Linked DNA regions of Homo sapiens: region 1 is linked to region 2. The links are contacts of gene promoters, found by promoter capture Hi-C in blood cells and fetal thymus (Javierre and others, 2016). All regions are on one chromosome and are shown on one strand. Each heading gives the region's core, a stretch centred on a gene start or on the middle of the fragment in contact. The rest is flanking DNA. Distances are from core to core; before and after follow the strand shown. Region 1 has its middle 41 kb from the start of LINC03088. Region 2 holds the start of MAP1LC3B2 (microtubule associated protein 1 light chain 3 beta 2).

Evidence for each region. The method cuts DNA at HindIII sites, captures the fragments that hold promoters and counts their contacts. A CHiCAGO score of 5 or more calls a contact.
Region 1: a fragment that was not itself captured here is called in contact with the fragment with the promoter of MAP1LC3B2 in region 2 in 1 of 17 cell types (monocytes); the score reaches 6.1 in monocytes.

What each region holds. Positions count from the first base shown.
Region 1 is chr12:116,617,683-116,622,440 of GRCh38, forward strand. No RefSeq gene overlaps it. Among named protein-coding and RNA genes, the nearest start is that of LINC03088, 41 kb to the right of the region's middle. The HindIII fragment of the contact is 1,666 bases long and covers 2,116-3,781 here.
Region 2 is chr12:116,556,004-116,561,515 of GRCh38, forward strand. MAP1LC3B2 (microtubule associated protein 1 light chain 3 beta 2) reads left to right here and starts at 3,378. Exons shown (of 2, transcript NM_001085481.3): 1 at 3,378-3,430. RefSeq lists enhancers at 2,873-3,382, 3,222-3,561, 3,782-3,831, 3,872-3,971, 5,461-5,512 and a silencer at 5,461-5,512. The HindIII fragment of the contact is 18,876 bases long and covers 1-5,512 here.

The sequences.
Region 1 (4,758 bases), core at 1,699-4,198, 61 kb after region 2:
TCGCCCAGGCTAGAGTGCAGTGGCATGATCTCTGCTCACTGCAACCTCCGTCTCCTGGGTTCAAGTGATTCTCCTGCCTCAACCTCCCAAGTAGCTGGGATTACAGGCGCCCCCATCACACCCAGCTATTTTTTTTTTTTTTTTTTTTTCAGATATAGTCTTGCCGTGTTGCCCAGACTGGAGTGCAGTGGTATGATCTCGGCTCACTGCACCCTCCTCCTCCTGGGTTCCAGCAGTTCTCCTGCCTCAGCCTCCTGAGTAGCTGGGATTACAGTTGTGTGCCACCACGCCTGACTAATTTTTTTTGTATTTTTAGTAGAGACGGGGTTTCACCACGTTGGCCAGGCTGGTCTTGAACTCCTGACCTCAATTAATCCACCCACCTTGGCCTCCCAAAATGCTGGGATTACAGGTGTGAGCCACTGTGCCTGGCCTTGTTAACAATTTTTAAGTGGTACGTGAAATACCTCAACATTCCCTATGACAGCATATGGAAAAAAGCGCTGGGCTAGTGGCAGATTCTGACCTTAGGTTTTCACATTTATCAGTCATGTGACTGTGACCAGGCCCCTACATCTCTCTGAGCCTCAGTTTCCCATGTATAAAATGGGCTAATAAGACCTAGGAGAGTAAAAATAAGATAATAAAAATGAAAGCCACTGGAAAATTGCAAAAGTATGGTCCAATCTAAGAGGTTCATTGTTATCCCTACTGTGTGGTTTGACAGAAATGATCCATACTTATCCGCCAGCCTATGAGACAATAGCAGGGATGACATTCAAAATCAAGGATGGTTCAATCCCAACTCTGCCAGGCATCAGCCTGTAGCCTTGAGCAGCTTCTTTAAGGTCTCTGAGCCTCCATTTCTTCATCTATAAAAAGGGGTTAGTAATAACACCCTTAGCAATTCAACTCAAAGGGCTAAAATTTTCCTCTAAGGAATGACAAATTGAAGGAAAAGCCCAACAGCCCAAAGAAAAACGGTGTGAAAAGATAGTGTACCCAAAATAAAATACAAATGGCTCTTAAATATGTAAACACATCCTCAGTCTCACTCATAAGAGAAATGCTCATTAAAATCACACTGAGGCAGGGCATGGTGGCTCGTGCCTGTAATCCCAGCACTCTGAGAGTCTGAGGCAGATGGATCGCTTGCGGTCAAGAGTTCCAGACCAGCCTGGCCAACATAGTGAAACTCCATCTCTACTAAAAATACAAAAATTAGGCAGATGTGGTGATGCATGCCTGTAATCCCAGCTACTTGGGAGGCTGAGGCAGGAGAATCACTTGAACCTAGAAGTGGAGGTTGCAGTGAGCTGAGATCATGCCACTGTACTCGAGCCTGGGTGATAGAGACAAAAAAAAAGAAAGAGAAAGAAAGAAAAGAAAAGAAAAGAAAAGAAAAAACTGAGTATGATTTTTTTAATCATTAAATTTGCAAAGAATTGGTTTGATAGAGATGTATTGGTAAAGTATGGGAAATGAAGGTGCCTAGATATTGATGGCGGGGAGGTAAATTGTTACAAACTCTATGAAGTGAAATTTACAGTTTCTCAAAAGTATAAAAGTGCATACTCTTTGAGGCAGGCTGAATCATGGTGTCCACATTCTAATCCCTGGAATGTGTGAGTGTTACCTAAGTGACAAAAAGGACCTGGCAAATGTGATTAAAGCAAGAATCTTGACATGGAAGGGTCATTCTAGGTTGGCCCAGTGGGTCTGATGTCATCACAGGGGTCCTTGTAAGAGGGAGGAGGGAGGTCAGAGAGGAAAGGTGATGTAATGACCGAGCAGAGGTACAGGGAAGTCCTTTGAAGATGAAGGCAGGGCCCACAAGCCAAGGAAGCTGAAAAAGACGAGGAAACAGATTCTTCCCTAGAGCCCGTGGGAGGAACCAGCCCTGTCCACACCTTGATTTTAGCCCAGTGAAATTTTTTTTAGACTTCTGACCTCCAGGACTGTGAGAGAATAATATGCGTTGTCTTGGGCCACTTTGTTTGTGGTCCTTGGTTAACAGCAGCCACAGGAAACAGATACCCTCTTTCTCCAAGCAATTCCACTCCTAGAACTTCATCCGACAGAGACACTGGGACAGATGCAAAATAACTACATACAAGCTTCTTCATTAAAGCAGAAATTGTAGAAGCCAAACACTGGAACCAAGCTAAATACCCAACAGGGATTGGTCAATAAAGCTGAGTACCTCCATGGAAGGGAGGGAAGGAAGAAGGGAGGGAGTAAAGGGAGGAACAAAGGAAAGGAGGAAAGGGAAGGGAAGGAAAAGAGGAAAAAACAAATATGCTTGTAATTCCAGCACTTTTGGAGGCCAAGGTGGGAGGACTGCTTGAGCCCAGGAGTTGAAGTCTGCAGTGAGCTGTGACTGTGCCACTGCCCTCCCGCCTGGGCAACAGAGAGAGACGCTGTCTCTAACTAAAAAATACGAATTAAAAAAAAGAAACAAATAGGTTTTCTAGATTTTTAGCCCAGCAGTGCAGGCTCAAAGGCCCTGGGTCCCTGGCTGCAGGTTCCCTGAAGGTGGGACAGTGAGGATGAGAGAATGTGATGCCTCTGAAGTTAGGTCATCACTGAGCTCAGTCTGGTTTTCTCCCTTTCATCCTGGGCAGGGTCCACCTAGGCGTGGCTTTCCTGTCCCTCCCAGCACTTTAGAGTGGATATCTGCAGGCTAGTTGTCCTGTTGATAAATCGGGGTGGGTTGTGACCTCATGTTGTCTATCAGGTTCAAGTCAATTCAAGACATGCTGCCTCTTTCCTGCTGCACTAAACCTAGCAAGGTGACGCCCCTCTAACACGCCTTCCCTCCGCCAACCCCACATCCAGCATTTAAATTGCAGGAAGATCACCATTGTGACAGTAGATTTCCAGCTGACACCCCCAGGGTAAGCACTAAGGAGCTCCCTAATTATCTAATCCTGAGATGCCCATGGGTGAAGCCGAGTGGAGCTCTTCTCTATCAGTAAACACGACATGCAGTTCTTTGTCTTCAGTGCAAAGCAAGGCTTTTTCCTGCCATGTGAGGAATACTCCTGCGTGATGTATTAAAATCCCTCAAAGAGAGAGAAAGAGGAAAGTAAAATAAATGTATTTCCATGACTCTAAGTACAAATCCCTGTGCGAGGCCCCGTGTGATCCTCAGAGCTGGGCTGGAGCTATTTTAAAACGAATGAAGCAAACCTACTCGATTGAAAAATCCTCTGTTACAGGATAGAGATGGGTAAGAAATCAGCGCCGGGGCTCTCGGAGTGCTTGATTATGGTTATAAACATTACTAGCTGCATCAGCAAAGCTGCTGGGAGTCCACCATAAACCTTTTGCGAGAGGAATCAGGAGGCAGGGCTGACCAGGCAAGTTCAAAACCTGAGCCCGTGTTACTCGGAGGCTTCCTAGGCTGCTAAAAATATCCAGTGATCTGCCTAAAGCAGGGGCAAGTGAGGAAAGCCTTTCTTCCCGCTGCCTCCTTGTCACCTGCAAGAAAAGGAGCCAGTTAAGGGGTGACAGGGGAGGAGGAAAATCCAACAGATACACAGAGCAGCGATTTTTGCCATGTGCATTGCTGCACAGCAGGGTGGCAGAGGTGTCTTCCTACGCTGAAGGAGCTCAGGGGAGGCCTCAGCCTGGACTTTAGACCAGAGAGAAAGTGGGTTCAAATCCCAGCTCTGCCACTGACTCATTTGCATGGTCCTCTACCCAAGACAGGGGACTTTATAAGCCTCAGTCTTCCCATCTGTAAAATGGAAATAATAATGCCAACACGTGAATTGTAAGCTTTAAAGATAACATGTGGTAAGTGCTGGGCTCAGAGCGGGTCCTTTCCCAATGGCAGCTGTTATTACTGCTGTGACAACTTAGTGGGGAGAGACAGATACATAAAAGCAATGGAGGCTGAGCATGGTGGCTTGCACCTGTAATCCCAGCACTTTGGGAGGTCGAGGTGGGTGGATCACCTGAGGTCAGGAGTTCAAGACCAGCCTGGCCAACATGGTGAAACCCTGTCTCTACTAAAAATACAAAAATTAGCTGGGCATGGTGGTGCGTGCCTGTAATCCCAGCTACTTGGGAGTCTGAAACACAAGAATCCCTTGAACCCAGGATACAGAGGTTGCAGTGAACTGAGATCACATCACTGCACTCCAGCCTGGGTCACAGAGTGAGACTCTGCCTCAAAAAAAGAAAAAAAAATGGGAAATCAAACAAGCAAGGAGGAAAACTGCACACAACCCCAGGTTGTGTATGGTTTGGACATAAGCATTGGAAAAATTCTCAGAAAGGAAAGGTTCCCGCCAAGTCCTCACCTGATCTTCAGCCCATAGAAATCTCCCCTAAGCTTCCAAAGCCAGGGAAATGCTAGATTTCCTCAAAGCCTGTCCAGATGTGCCAGTGGTTTGTTCTTCCTTTGCAGCATGGTTGCAATATTCAACCACTCAGCGTGTGTAGAACTGAATGGCATCATTCCCTCTCTGTATGCCCAGGCGACTCTCAAATGGCAGGTGTGTAATAAATGACTAGGTCAGGGCACTTGAGTAGTTAGTGAGAAATACACTGAGTAGAGAAGGCAGAGAGACTCTAATTGATGTGGCATGTGTATGTGTCAGCATTCAATCAGAGAGGCTGGGCCACCATACATATCTGTGCACTTATACATATATGTGTGTGTGTTATAGAGATTTGACCTTACATGATTGTGGGAGTCTCTGTAAAGCTGCTGTCTTTGCTCCTGATGCTGGAGCCTGAAGTCCTCAG
Region 2 (5,512 bases), core at 2,128-4,627:
AGGATGGGGAGGTGGGTAAATGGCTGCATTATGATGATAGTATTATTGTTACAGGAAAGTGGTCCCAATCCAGACCCCAAGAGAGGATTCTTGGATCTTGCTCAAGAAAGAATTCAGGGCAAGTCCATAAAGTGAATGCAAGTTTATTGAGAAAGTAAAGGAATCAAAGAATGGCTACTCCATAGGCAGAACAGCCCCAAGGGCTGCTGGTTGCCCATTTTTATGGTTATTTCTTGATGATGTGCTAAACAAGGGGTGGATTATTCATGCCTCCCCTTTTTAGACCATATAGGGTAACCTCCTGACGTTGCCATGGCATTTGTAAACTGTCATGGTGCTGGTGGGAGTGTAGCAGTGAGGATGACCAGAGGTCACTCTGGTCACCATCTTGGTTTTGGTGGGTTTTAGCTGGCATCTTACTGCAACCTGTTTTATCAGCAAGGTCTTTATGACCTGTATCTTTTGTTGACCTCCTATCTCATCCTGTGACTTAGAATGTCTTAATCATCGGGAATGCAGCCCTTTTTACCCAGCTCCTATTCAAGATGGAGTTGCTCTTGTTCACAAGTCTCTGACATTACGACAATTTGCTGACTTGTGGCTGTGCCATACCTTGTGGAAGGGGGCGGAGTTAAGGGATTTTCACGGAAATGTTTTCCTTCACCTTGACTTTAGAATCTAGTACCCATATATGCTCACTGCAACTCAAGTCCCACAGGTGAGAAAATGGGGGCCCCAGGGAGTTAGTCACTTGCCTAAGGTCTCAGAGCTCATGAGTGACAAAGAAGAGATTCAAGCCCAATCTACTTTACTAGGAAACCCGCTCCCTTTTTTTCCCCCCTTTTTTCTTTCCCTTCTCTCATTGTTTTGCCTTCCTGTCCACAAGAGGGGTCTAAGGGAAATCAGCGTGCCAGAAGGTAGAGTCTCACCACAGACTCTCCACTACTGCAGGTGGCACTGAGTGTCATCGGCCTGCCTCACAGTTCTGGATGAGGCCACAGGTAAATTCAGATTCCAAAGGTTTATGAAGCTGGTATGACTTAGGACTCTTCTAGCTGCAAGAGACAAAAGCCTAATTCAGACTAGGTCAAACCAAAAAGGAACCATATTGACTCACATAACTAGCAAGTTGAAGGGGTGATGGCTTCAGGCATGGCGGGATCAAGGGGCTCAAATGGTCATCAGCATATGATCTCTCCATTTTTGGTTTCATCTCTGTTAGCTTCATTCTCTGAACAACTCTTCCTTCCATTATACAAAGAGAGCCAATGGCAGCACTGAGTGTAAAACTTGAGCTTTTAGAAATCCAGCAGAAAGATTTCCTCCCTCCTAAGAGATTCATCCAACATTCCTGAAATTCACTCTGATTGTCCCAGCTTGAGTCCCAGGGATGTTTCCAGAAATGAATCACTATGGCCAGGGGCATATGAGACCCCATGATCAGGCCTGGGCCACCTCCTCACTTCCAGAGTTTGAGAGTAAGTTGAGCCCCAAATCTTACGGAAAAAAGAGTGGGAGGAGGAAGAGTAGTATTCTGTGGCCAACCTAGAAAACCACAGAAATTCCTCCCACCTTCTGCTCAGGCCAGTGGGAAACTTGTAAGACAGAGTCCCAGTCCATGTGAGTGGCGAGTGGGGGCATCTTGGGAGGGGCCTTCCAAAGGCAAAGCCAGGCTGGTTTGGTGGAGTCCTTTCCAGAACCCATCTGCTTGTGTAAAGCCTAGCAGAGGCCACCTTCAGCAGCCCTCCCGGATACTGGTTAAAGTGTTGTTATTGTTTGAGACAGGGTCTCACTCTGCCACCCATACTAGAGGGCAGTAGTACAATCTCGGCTCACTGCAACCTCCACCTCCCGGGTTCAAGCGATTCTCCTGCCTCAGCCTCCTGAGTAGCTGGGACTACAGGCATGTGCCACCGTGTCCCGCTAATTTTTGTATTTTTGGTAGAGATGAGGCTTCACCATGTTGGCCAGGCTGGTTTTGAACTCCTGATCTCAAGTAATCCACCCACCCTGGCCTCCCAAAGTACTGGGATTACAGGCATGAGCCACTGCACCCGGACTTAAAGTGGTTTTTAAAAAGTGCCGTGTGAGACTTCCAAATAGTACTCACGGGGAGGGAAATGAAAGGAGAGGATTGGGGAAGAAACACCTTCTATTTTTTTTTTTTTTTTTTTTTTTTAGAGACAGGGTCTTGCTCTGTCACCCAGGCTGCAGCCTGGACCTCTTGGGCTCAAGGGATCCTCCCACCTTAGCCTCCTGTGTAGCTGGGACCACAGGCGTGCACCGCCACACCCAGCTAATTTTTTTTATTTTTTTGCAGAGATGGGGTCTCTCTATGTTGCCCAGGCTGGCCTCAAACTCCTGGGCTCAAGTGATCCTCCCTTCTCGGCCTCCCAAAGTACTGGGATTACAGGGGTGAGCCACCTCACCTGTACAGCTTCTTTGGAGAATGGGCCTGGGCAGGTCAAACAGGGGCCACTCTACACCATCATGGCACAGCAAGAGCTGGGCTATGTAGGTTCAGTATTCTTTGTCATTTAATCCTTGTGACGACCTCGTGTCATCATTGCTGTTTTACAGATAAGGAACTGAGGCTCAGAGAGGTTCAGTGTCACAGCTAGCATTTCACTTACATATCACAGAGCAAAGGCTCTCTTTGTCCAGAGACAACGTGCCTTTAGGTGATAGAGCTAGGACTGGAACCCAAGTCTATCTGACTCAAAGTCCACACAGCTTGTCCCCCATCCCGCAGGGACCTCTCCACGCTAGTGAGCCCCACGAAACCCCCTCAGTGCTTCGTTCCAGTCTTTTACCTTCAAGCCCAGTCAGCGAGTTCTTTATTTCCACAAATGGTGCTATTAAACTAATGGCTTCGGGAGCTATAGGCTGGCCTCGGCACAGTTACACATCTCTCCACCCACCATGTTCTGGCTTCCAAATAAATACATTGGAAATTCCAGGAGCCGAAGCCCATTTGGAAACGTTTCCGGGCCACCATTTTGCTTTGGGATGGGCAAGAAGAGACACCCTAAACTTGAACTCCTGTCTGTGCAGCCTCCAGCCGGCCAGGCGCTAAATAAGGCCACGGCCCGTTTCCTCCTTCAAAAGTCCCTTGTAAAGGGCGATAGCAGACCCCATCAGGCAAAAAGCTGAGAAGCCAGGGTTGAAATAGAGGCCTCTTTCTGTTTGGTCAATCAGCAGCTGCAAAGGATGCGTAGGATGGAGCTAAATTTATTTGTTCCTTTCTTTCTCAGCAACAGCGACGAGGCCCGAGGTGCAGCTGTCTCGCCTCGCCTGTCTTTTGCAGGCACCGGCATGCACAGAAGATGGCTCTCCGGGAGGAAGATTCCTTTCCATTTTGTTCTCTCTCTGCCTCCGCAAGGCTCGCAGCCACCTCTCGGGAGTGCAGGGCCAGATCCTGTGCCAGCGGGTAGGAATATGTAGCTGCCTCCCAGCCCCAGGGTGGAAATCATGACCTTTGAGAAGCAGGCAAGCTGCACGGCATAGATACTCAGGCCTGGTGAAGGCAAAGTGGGGCCACACCCTAGAAAAACCACAAAAGTCCCCACAGCCTCTGCTTTCACTAGTCAGACCTGTGGGAAACTTGTAAGACACAGTCCATGTGATCGGCGGGTGGGGGCATGTTGGGAGGGGCCTTCCGAAGGCCACAGCCAGGCTGGCAGGGCAGAGTCCTTTCCAGAATTTATCTGTTTGCTTAAAGCCCAGCGGAGGGGCCACCTTCAGTCAACCCTCCAGCATACTGGTCCAAGTAGTTTTTTCAAAGTGCTTTGTGAGACTTTCAAAAGGTACCCATGGGGAGGGAAGTGAGAGGAGGAGGAGGGGACGGTGAAGAAACAGCTTCTTTATTTCTAGCCTTGCTTGAATGGCTTCTTGACGGTTACTGCTCCAGTTTTGCTGAGTCAGAAGAATCCCACAGCCGCTCACCGGAAACACAGCTGTTGGGCAAAAATAACCACAGAGCTGAGCATCATGCACCTTCCAGAAAAGATGGCAGAAAACCTCAAAACAAAAGAGAAATACAAAACAATAGGAGACACTGTCAAGAAAAAAAAAACAAAAACAAAAACCACCGCAGCTCACTAACCGATCCAAGCTGGTGGCGCTCTCCTGATCTCTCTCCACTCCCAGGCCCAGCAACGGCTCTGAAATAAAGCTAAGTTTGGCTATATATATATATATATATATATATATATATATATATATATATATATATATATGTATGTATATGTATATATATATATTTAGATAGAGTCTTCCTCTGTCGCCCAGGCTGGAATGCAGTGGCGCGCTCTCGGCTCGCTGCAACCTCTGCCTCCTGGGTTCAAGTGATTCTCCTGCCTCAGCCTTCCGACTAGCTGGGATTACAGGTGCGCCACCACGCCCAGCTAATTTTTGTATTTTTAGTAGAGACGAGGTTTCGCCATGTTGGCCAGGCTGGTCTCGAACTCCTGACCTCAAGTGATCCGCCCACCTCGGCCTCCCAAAGTCTTGGGATTACAGGTGTGAACCATCACATCTGGCCTACTTTTACACTGTAGTGGGTTTAATAGTGTCTCCCCAGTCACACCTCCACCAAAAAAAGAAAAGATATGTCCACAGTCTAATGTGCTGCAGCACCTGTGAATGTGACCTTAATGGAGAAAGGATCTTTGCAGGTGTAAATTAATTTTAGGATCTCAAGATTGAATCATCCTAGACTACCTGGGTGGACCTCAAATCCAATGACAGGTATCCTTATAAAAGGAAGGCAGATCCAGCTTGGGCAACATAGGGAGACCCTGTTTCTACAAATAGTTTAAAAAAAAAAAAAGGCTGGGCATAGTGGCTTACACCTCTAATCCCAGCACCTTGGGAGTCCAAGGTGGGCAGGTCACTTGAGGCCAGGAGTTCAAGACCAGCTTGCCCAATATGGCTTAACCCCATCTCTACTAAAACTACAAAAATTAGCTGGGCATGGTAGTGTATGCCTGTAGTCCCCGCTACTTGGGAGGCTGAGACACAAGAATCACTTGAATCCGGGAAGCAGAGGTTGCAGTGAGCTGAGATTGTGCCACTGTACTCCAGCTTGGGCAACAGAGCACGACTCCATCTCAGAAAAAAAGCTGTGGGGGACAGTGGTGTGTGCCTGTGGTCCCAGCTACTTGTGAGGCTGAGACAGGAGGATCTCTTGAGCCCAGAAGTTCGAGGCTGCAGTGAGCTATGATGGCACCACTGTACTCCAGCCTGGGTGACCAAGTGAGACCCTGTCTCAAAATAAAAAAAAAAAAGTGTGGCAGAGGTAGATGGGTAGATTAGACACACAGAGAGGAAGTCCCAGAGGAACTTGGAAGTGAGGATTGGAGTTTTGCAGCTACAAACCAAGGATATTAGGGCACTCATAAGAAACTAACAGAGCCACCCCAGGCTTCTGTTTACCAGGTCCTCCCCTGGCCATCTCCTTCCCCTTGTCTGGGCTGAAAACATTCACAGCATCTTGTTTGCGTGGACACCG